Linked DNA regions of Homo sapiens: region 1 is linked to region 2. Evidence: promoter capture Hi-C in human tissues and cell types (Jung and others, 2019). All regions are on one chromosome and are shown on one strand. Each heading gives the region's core, a stretch centred on a gene start or on the middle of the fragment in contact. The rest is flanking DNA. Distances are from core to core; before and after follow the strand shown. Region 1 has its middle 11 kb from the start of SSX5. Region 2 holds the start of SSX1 (SSX family member 1).

Region 1 (4,989 bases), core at 935-3,434, 48 kb after region 2:
ATTAACTGCTCAAATACATAATTCATTGGGATAGATTGGATATTAAGACGGATATAGTTGAAAAAGCAATTACTGACCTGAGGAAATTAGTCTAAAGAATTCATAAAAGTAATCGGTAATGGATAGAGATGAAGTAAACGAAAGAAAAGTTAATTAATAGGGAGCATAGAAGAATAAATGTCAAAACACATCTAATAGTAGCCTTATAAGAAGAGAACATAGTCATTAAAAAGGAGAGTGTACTTAAACAAGTAATGAGTGAGAATTTCTCAGATTTAGAGGAATATCTTAAGATTTAAAGGGATCATCGTACACACACACATACACACACAGGAACAGTGAAATGAAAAATTATGAAAGACAAAAATTTTTTTTAAATGATCAGAGGAAAATAGCAGGTTACTTACAAAGGAAAAATATTTCAGCCTTCATCAGATCTCTCAAACACCACACTGGAGGCAAGGATACAATGGTGTAATAACTCCAAAGTGTTGAACGAAAGGAATTTTTTTTTCTTTTTTTGGAGACAGAGTCTCGCTTTGTCACCCAGGCTGGAGTGCAGTGGCATGATCTCAGCTCACTGCAACCTCTACCTCCCAGTTTCAAGTGATTCTCCTCCTCAGCCTCCTGAGTAGCTGGGGCTACAGGTGCACACTATCACACCCAGCTAATTTTTGTACTTTTAGTACAAAATTAGTAGAGATGGGGTTTCGCCATGTTGGCCAGGCTGATCTCCAACTCCTGACCTGAGGTTATCTGTCCGCCTTGGCCTCCCAATATGCTGGGATTATAGGGGTAAGCCACTGCGCCCGTGAAAGAAAGGAATTTTTATATTTTTGGTGGAGTATGGCAATGTCAGGCATATAACACTTGAGGAGATTGAAGACACAGGGAAATGTTAAAGCAAACAAGTATTTATTGCACTTATTAAAGACTGTAAGGAAGGGCCAGCTGCAGTGGCTCATGCCTGTAATCCCAGCACTTTGGGAGCCTGAGGCAAGAGGATTGGTTGAGCCCAGGAATTCAAGACCAGCCTGGGCAACATGGTGAAACCCCATCTCTACAAAAAACAAAAACAAAAACAAAAACAAAAACAAAAACAAAAAAAACCACAAGAATTAGATGGGCATATCAAGTTCCTGGGTTCATACAGAATTAAAAAAAAAATAGCTGGATTTGGTAGTGCGTATCTGTAGTCCCAGCTACTCAGGAGGCTGGGGCAGGAAGATTGCTTGGGCCCTGGAGTTTGAGGCTGCAGTGAGCTAGGATTGGGTCACTGCACTCCAGCCTGAGTGACAGAGTGAGACTTTGTCTCTGAAAATAACAAAAAGATCGTAAGGATGATTTTACTCAGAGGGGGGACTCCTGTGATAGGCACAGGGACCACTGCAATGGGGTCTTGCAGTGGGAGAGTGATATTGGGATCGACTTCATCTCCACCAAGGACAAGTGGGGATTTGTAGTCAAGGAGTAGGGTCGGGGGGTCAGAAGATGGGAAATTACTTGGAGGAAACCTCAGGTGCAGGGGGATTCTGGCTAAACTGACTTGACAGGATTTTTGCTGAAACAGGCTAAATGGGCAGAGTCCCTGGATGAAGGACAGAGCCCGAGGTTGGGGCCTAGTCAGAAACAGGACTCAGAGGAGCCCCACTCAAGTTTGGTCAAAGAAGAGTGTCTCTGTCTGAAAGGATAAGCAAGAAAGTCAACAGCAGTAAAATGAATGGGTCACAAAGGAGAATTTTTGTGCATTGCTAAGCAGGACTCTGCTTTAACCATTGTGAAAGTTGATTACGTGAAGTGAGTCGCTCTTAGTTTTTTTTGAGTTCTTATTTGCAGAGGAAGCCTTCAGGTACTATGCTTCAGAGAGAATAGGTTGTAACATTTTTTTTTTTCTTTTTGAGACAGAGTCTCACTATATCGCCAGGCTAGAGTGCAGTGGCTCCTTCTCTGCTCACTGCAGCCTCTGGCTCTCGGGTTCGAGCGATTCTCTTGCCTGAGCCTCCTGAGTAGCTGAGACTACAGGCATGTGCCACCACGCCCGGCTAATTTTTTGTATTTTTAGTAGATACCGGATTTCACTATGTTAGCTAGGATGGTGTTGATCTCCTGACCTCATGATCCGCCCTCCTCAGCCCCCTAAAGTGCTGGGATTACAGGCGTGAGCCACCGCGCCCGGCCAACATGTTTCTTATCAGACTTCAAGTCTGTGTTGATGTTGATGCCAGAGAAGTATAATGAGGCATGTCTGACCCCCACTTCCTGTCATGGCCTGAAACCGTCTCTCAGGTTAAATTTTAAAAGAGCCCTGGCTTAGGAGGAAGTCTTTTCAGATGGTTGGGGGCAGGGGGCTTAGGATTTTATTTTTGATTTACAAGTCCTACAAGGTGAAACTGCACAAATTTTAAAGAACAAGTCTCATGCCTGATGTATGGACCACATAAAAAGTTCACCAAACTGTCCAATGCCATAACCAGAGACATTTGCTCGACAAGTCAGGATGAGAAGTTGATGTTTCCACACTGTAGACAGCTTTTCTCAAGATGCCAGAATAAGTCTTCATATCATAATGAGAATCTTACCCCCTGAATGTCTACATTTTTCACTTGACAGAACCTGACCCCAAATCTTTTCCTTCACCTAGTGGTCCCTTTTATAGAGTCGGCACTCTGCTTTAATTCAACCCAGTCCCAAAATACTACTCAAAGACTATAAGAGGTCTCACTCAATTGCCCCGTAGTCTTCTGATTTGTTTAGCTGGTGGCCCCTAGGCTTGGGATCTTCATTCAAAACCATTGTACAAACTAAATTTATTATATTATTGCTAATTATAGCTGGGTGTGGGGGCTTACACCTGTAATCTCAGCACTTTGGGATGCCAAGGCAGGCAGATCACTTGAGGTCGGGAGTTGGAGACCAGCCTGGCCAACATGGTGAAACCCCATCTCTACTAAAAAGACAAAAATTAGCCGGCCGTGGTGGTGGGCACCTGTAATCCAAGCTACTCGGGAGGCTGAAGCAGTAGAATCACTTGAACCTGGGAGATGGAGGTTGCAGTGAGCAACCTTGCTTACTACAGTGGCTGGATCACACCACTGCACTCCAGCCTGGGTGACAGAGCGAGACTCCATCTCAGAAAACAAAACAAAAACAAAAACCTAATAAATGCAGTTAAGAAACTATCTTAAAACAAAATCCCTGTTTTTTTAGACTGATTATTTAAAAGATAAAGAAAAACAGATCAACATGTTAAGAAAACCTGTTTCAAACCTAGAGGAGCAGACTCACCCTGCTTCAGTGCACCCTTGATACTAATGTTCAATTTTTAGAAAAACTGATAAACAATTTCTTTTCAATCCCAACCAACCAGATGATATATAAGACTCCCTTCCCAAGGCTCATCCTTCATAAACCCTCAGCAACTTGCGTAGACATTCCATCATTTTTTTACCCCCAGTCTTAGTCCTACAATTTTTCATTTTTATATTGGACTGCAATCCAAGTACCAACCAAGTCTGACCCTGTTTAACTTCTGAGATCATGCAATATTTGGTGCATTCAGGTGGTATGGCCATAGACTATTTTTCTTTTTTTTTTTTTTTTGAGACAGAGTCTTGCTCTGTCACCCAGGTTGGAGGGCAGTGTCGCAATCTCAGCTCACTGCAACCTCCACCTCCCGGGTTCCAGTGATTCTCCTGCCTCAGGCTCCTGAGTAGCTGGGATTACAGGCATGGGCCAACACATCTGGCTAACTTTTTTACTTTTAGTAGAGACGGGGTTTCGCCATGTTGGCTCACGAACTCCTGACCTCGTGATCCACCTGCCTCAGCCTCCCAAAGTGCTGAGATTACAGGCATGAGCCACCACGCCCGGCCATAACCTTAATTTTTAGTAAAAATCTAGAAAGTAGTTTGGAATTGTTATATATTAACATATCATGAATATATATTTTATAATCTTTAAAAATTTTTTTTTTTTTTTTTTTTTTTTTTTTTTTTTTTGAGACGGAGTCTCGCTCTGTCACCAGGCAGGAGTGCAGTGGCTCAATCTAGGCTCACAGAAACTTCTGCTCCTGGGTTCAAGCGATTCTCCTGCCTCAGCCTCCCAAGTAGTTGGGACTACAGGTGCCCACCACCACACCCAGCTAATTTTTGTATTTTTAGTAGAGACGGGGGTTCATCATGTTGGCCAGGATGGTCTTGATCTCTTGACCTCGTGATCCACCCACCTCAGCCTCCCAAAGTGCTAGGATTACAGGCGTGAGCCACCTCCCCCGGCCAGAACAATTTTCTACATTTTCAATGTAGAACAGGGCATTTTATTAACAGATCCAAATATCTTTTCTCTTTTATAAAACTTAAGGGCCAAGAACAAACTTGTATTTATGTTTAGCGATTTGTATCAGTTATTTTCTTAGATGGAAGTGATCCCGACATTTAACGAGTACCTATTACTAAATCTAACATAACATAACTTTAATATTTCATCTTCCTATGATAAGAGCAAGAGAAAAAAGATTTCAAATTACATGAAAAGTTCATTTATAAACATGTATCTCACATTTACCTCTTTTATTCATTTTTAACAATTATACCTAGATTACTTATGAAAACTGACATATTAAACAAAGCTAGTTGGCCGGATGAGGTGGCTCATGCCTCTCCATCCAGGGACTCTGCCCATTTAGCCTGTTTCAGCAAAATTCCTGTCAAGTCTGTTTAGCCAGAATCTGCCTGCACCTGATGTCTCCTCCAAGTAATTTCCCATCTTCTGACCCCCTGACCCTACTCCTTGACTATAAATCCCCACTTGCCCTTGGTGGAGTTGAAGTTGATCCCGATATCACTCTCCTAACCCAAAACCCCGTTGCAGTGGCCCGTGTACATATCATAGTACTCCCCACTCTGAGTAAAATCGTCCCTACAATCTTTTTTCTTATTTTTCAGAGACAGAGACTTTGTCTCACTCTGTCACTTAGGCTAGAGTGCAGTG
Region 2 (5,093 bases), core at 403-2,902:
GGAGTCTCTGGGAGAAGTATTGCTTGGGGATGACAGGTTTCCTAGCAGCCTTGAGTCTTTGGGAGGGGGTTGGCTAGTGTTGTTAGTAGTTTCCCTGGGGCTAGGCTTACCCTGAAAGATGTACAGACCCTTGCTGGGGAGGCAGGGACGTGACTGTGTAATTTTATTGAATGGGGGCGTTCTGACACCCCCACTCAATAAATAAAGGGAGGGAAGTGAGTCCCAGACATAACGTGGTCTTTCTGGTGATGGATCTGATCAGGCAGAGGGATGGGGGGGTTCTGTTCTGTTGAAGAGAAATGACCTTCACTAATATGAACAGATTTAGAAGCTATTACTGGGTTATTTGTAAATTATTAGAAGGAAGAGAGCTAGAATCTCTGAGATTACAAGAGCCTGCCATCACTTAGAGAAAATGTGGGGTGTTTCAATTTGCAGCAATCGGCCAGGCGCAGTGGCTCATGCCTGTAATCCCAGCATTTTGGGAGGCCGAGGCGTGCAGATCTCTTGAGCCCAGGAGGTTGAGACCAGCCTGGGAAACATAGCAAACCCCTCATCTCTACAAAAAAAAAAAAAAAAAAAAAAAAACAACCACACAAAAAATTAGCTGGGGGCGGTGGCACAGGCCTATAACATCTCAGCTCTTTGGCCAAGGGGGGGCGGATCGCTTGAGCCCACGAGGTTGATACCAGCCTAGCCAACCTAGAAAAACCCTCTACTAAAAAAAATAAAATAAAATAAAAAGTATTAGTGGGGGCGGGGTGGTGCTCGCCTGTAGTTCCGAGGCCGAGGCAAGAGGATCTCTTGAGCCCAGGAGGTTGAGGCCAGCCTGGCCAACATAGCAAAACCCCATTTCTACTACTAATAATAACAACAAAAATAATAACATCAGCGAGGTGGTTCTTGCCTGTAGTTCCGAGGCCGAGGTGGGAGGATCACTTGAGCCGAGGAGGTCAAGCCCAGTTCGGCCAACATAAGGAAACCCTGTCTCTACTAAAAAGAACAACAACAACAAAACTAGCAGGGGCGGAATGGCACACATCTGTAGTCCTGAGGCCAAGGTGTGAGGATCGCTTGAGCCCAGGAGGTTGAGGCCAGCCTGGCCAACATAGTGAAACCTGGTTTCTACTAAAAAAAAAAAAAAAAAAAGCATGGGCAGGATGGTGCACTTCTGTAGTCCCAGGGCCGAGGCGGAAGGATTGCTTAAGCCCAGGCGGCAGAGGCCAGCCTGGCCAACATAGCAAAACCGTCTGTACTAAAAAAATAAAAAATAAAAAAAATTAGTGAGGGTGGGGTGGTTCGTGCCTGTAGTCCCGAGGCCAAGGCGGGAGGATTGCTTGAGCCCAGGCGGTTGAGGCCAGCCTGGTCAACATAACAAATCCCCGTCTCTACTAAAAAAAAAAAAAAAAAAACAGGGGTGGGATAATACAGGCCTGTAGACCCAAGGCCGAGGCGGGAGGATCCTCCATGATGATCGTCCTGAAAGGCATTAGTTGTCTTTCAGTCCTCAAGATTTTCGGAACCCCAAGCACTTGACGGCCCTACAGAGGCTTCCTCCTTTTCTATCTGCCCCGATTAGCCCATCTAGGGTGTCCCTTAAAGAGAACCTACTTCAGAGACAAAGCAGTGGTTGCGAGGTCGGCAGCAGTGGTGGCGAGTTGGCAGCAGTTGGTGACAAAGTGTGGCTGGAGGAGGAGAAAATATTCTGCAATGTCATTGCTCCAGGATGATGGACCAATCAGGGCAGTTAGTGAACTCCATCTGGCCAATCAGAAGTCAGAACAGTAGGCGGGACAAGCCAAGCTGATGTGGGGTCTATCAGTCTAGGCTCTAGGGACAGAACCTTCTCAAAATGGAGGCAGAAACTCTGACTTTCCCGCCTAAAGCATCCCCTGGGATTGGCTACTCCAAGTTCAGAGTACGCATGCTCTGATTTTCTCTTTGGAGTCTTCCCAAATCAGAGTACGCATGCGCTGATTTTCTCTTTTCATTTTTCCTATCCCTCCCCACCTCCTCGGTGGTGCATTGTTATCCAGTTTTAATAAGGAGTGTATATGAAGCAGGTCATCATCTCAAATCCTTCCTGTCAGTTTCTATCTTTTTCAGGTATGGGATTTTTTCCTAGGAACTCTGTAGTGACGTAAGAAATTTGGGCCGGTGCGGCGGCTCACGGTTGTAATCCCAGCACTTAGGGAGGCCACAGCTGGAGGATCACTTGAACCTGGGAGGCAGAGGTTGCAGTGAGCCATGATCATGCCACTGCACCCCACCCTGGGCAACAGAGCAATACCCTGTCTCTTTTCTCTACAAAAAAAATAAATAAAATTAGCGAGGTGGGGTGGTGTGCCTGTAGTCCGTTACTCAGGAGGCTGAGGTAGGAGGATAGCTTGAGCCCAGGAGTACGAGGTTGCAGTGAGCCATGATCTGGCTACTCCTGCCTACCTGGGCCACAGAGCGAGATCTTGTCTTTAAAAAGAGAGAGAGAGAGAAAGAGAAAGAAAGAAAAATTTCAATGAGCCAGTCCCAGTGGCTCATGCCTGTAATCCCAACACTTTGAGAGGCTGAGGCAGGAGGTGGAAGGATCACTTGAGGCCAGGAGTTCCAGAACAATCTGGGATACATAGTGAGACCCCCATCTCTATAAAAAATTTTTAAAAAAGAAATTTAAACAAAAAAAAACACTTCTACACTTCCATATATGTTTTTTTCTAAAAGACCAAAGAAGCAGAAATATATTTTACCCATTGATATTAATAATATTTATAATAATAGTATTAAAAAGAGTATGTAATTAGGGCCCACTGTGTTCATCAGGGAGCTCATAAGTCAATTTGTCTAAGAAGTTTCCCCTACCCCCATCCCTAGTACCTCCAACAAGTCCCCATTCCTCTCTGGGCTTTCCACCTACAGCCCTGATCTCTCTAAGATCCTCCCAGGATTACAGCAAGCTCTCTTAGGGCAGGAACAGAGCAATGGCCCTTGAGCCCAGCACAAAGCCTTTTATGTGCATCTTCCCATTAATTTTCACAACCTTCTCTGGAGTTAAATACTATTATCATCCCCAGTATGCAGATGTTGAGACTGAGGCTCAAGAGAATTAAGCAGTCTGCTCAAAGTCACATAGTCAGTGGGTGACAGAGCTGGGATTCACCCCCAAGATAGAATTGAGTCCAAAGTCTGTGCTTTTATTTATGTATTTATTTATTTTTAATTAAAATAATTTTTTTTTAGAGATGGGGTCTTGCTATGTTGTCCCTGCTGATCTGGAAGGAACTGCTGGCCTCAAGCAATCCTCCTGCCTTGGCTTCCCAAAGCACTGGGATTACAGGAGTGAACCATCCCACGCCCGGCCTCAAAGTCGGTGCTTTTAATTACTCTTCTATATTGCCTCGACTACTTGTTGAATGAATGAATGCATCTTACAACTGCAAAGGTTCTTTAACATAATTTACATAACTCCTTACAATCACCCCATATTCCCTCTGACTGCTGTAACAAATTACCGCAAACTTTGTGGCATAAACAACATCAATTTATTCTCTCACAATTCTGGAGCCCAGAAATCTGAAATCAGTTTCACTGAGTTGAAATCAAGTTGTCAGCAGGGCTGTAGTCCTCCAGAGGCTCTAGGAGAGAACCTGTTCCTTGCCTCTTCCAGCTTCCCGTGATTGCCAGCATTTCTTGGCTTGTGGCTTGATATGGATTGGCTCTGTGTCCCCACCCAAATCTCATCTCGAATTGTAATCCCCACAGATTACAAATCCCCACGGGGGTGGTTTTCCCCATGCTGTTTTTGTGACAGTGAGTTCTCATGAGGTCTGATGGTTTTACAAGCGTCTGGCATTTCCCCTGCTTGCATTTCTGTCTCCTGCTACCATGCGAAGAAAGTCTTTGCTTCCTCTTCACCTTTGGCCATGATTGTTTCCTGAGGCCTCCCCAGCCATGCAGAACTGTGAGTCAGTTAAATCTCTTTCTTTTATAAATTACCCAGTCTCGGGCAGCTCTTTATAGCAGTGTGAGAAGGGACTAATATATGGCTGCATCACTCTAATCTCTACCTCCATGGTCATTGCCTTCGTTTGTTTTCTGTTACTATAATGGAATACCACAAACTGGGTAATTTATAAAGGATAGAAGTTCATTTGGTATACAGTTCTAGAGGCTAGGAGTCCAAGAACATGGCGCTGGCATCTGGTGAGGGTTGTGTCATGATGGAAGGATGAAAGGCAAAAGCAAGTGCAGGAGACAGACAGAGAAAATGTGACTAAGCTCCCTTTTATAACAAACCCAATCTCGTGATAACTAATCCACTCTTATGATAATGGCATTAATCACTTCCTAACAGCCCCACCTCTTAATATTGTTAACAATGGCAATTAAATTTCAACACAAGTTTTGGTGGGGACGTTCAAACCATGGCAGGCTTACTGCCTTCTTCTCTTCTGTCTGTGTCAGATCTCCCTGCCTTAATCTGATAAGGACACTCATTATTACATTTAGGGCCCACCCAGATAATCCAGACAATCCAGGAGAATCTCCCCATCTCAAGAGCTTTAACATAATTACTTTTTTTTTTTCGAGACGGAGTCTCACTCTGTTGACCAGGCGAGAGTACAGTGGCATGATCTTGGCTCACTGCAACTTCTGCCTCCCGGGTTCAAGCAATTCTTTGCCTCAGGCTCCTGCATAGCTGGGATTACAGGTGCCCGCCACCATACCCAGCTAATTTTTATATTTTTTTTAGCAGAGACGGGGTTTCACCATCTTGGCCAGGCTGGTCTTGAACTCCTGACCTCGTGACCCACCCGCCTCGGCCTCCCAAAGTGCTGGGATTATAGGCGTGAGCCACCACACCTGGCCAACATAATTACTTTTTTTGTTGTAAGCTAACACTCACAGGTTCCAGGTGTTACTATGTTGCTATCTTTTGGAGGGGCGTTGTTCAGTCTACCACAGCCTGCCCTCTGGCCCCCAAGTATTCACATCTCTCCCACATGCAAAATACATGCACCCCATCCCCAAATCCTCAAATGTCTCAAACCGTGCAACATTAGCTGAAGTCCAACATCTTATCCATATAAGATCAGCTCAAA

The links. The method cuts DNA at HindIII sites, captures the fragments that hold promoters and counts their contacts. A contact is called where the count stands out against the background at its distance.
Region 1: a contact is called between a fragment that was not itself captured here and the fragment with the promoter of SSX1 in region 2, in 4 of the 25 tissues and cell types used here (aorta, pancreas, small bowel and 1 more).

What each region holds. Positions count from the first base shown.
Region 1 is chrX:48,204,845-48,209,833 of GRCh38, reverse strand. It overlaps the pseudogene RNA5SP503. Among named protein-coding and RNA genes, the nearest start is that of SSX5, 11 kb to the right of the region's middle. The HindIII fragment of the contact is 6,299 bases long and covers 1-4,989 here.
Region 2 is chrX:48,251,951-48,257,043 of GRCh38, reverse strand. It overlaps SSX1 (SSX family member 1), which reads right to left and starts at 1,652. Exons shown (of 8, transcript NM_005635.4): 1 at 1,612-1,652. The HindIII fragment of the contact is 20,804 bases long and covers 1-5,093 here.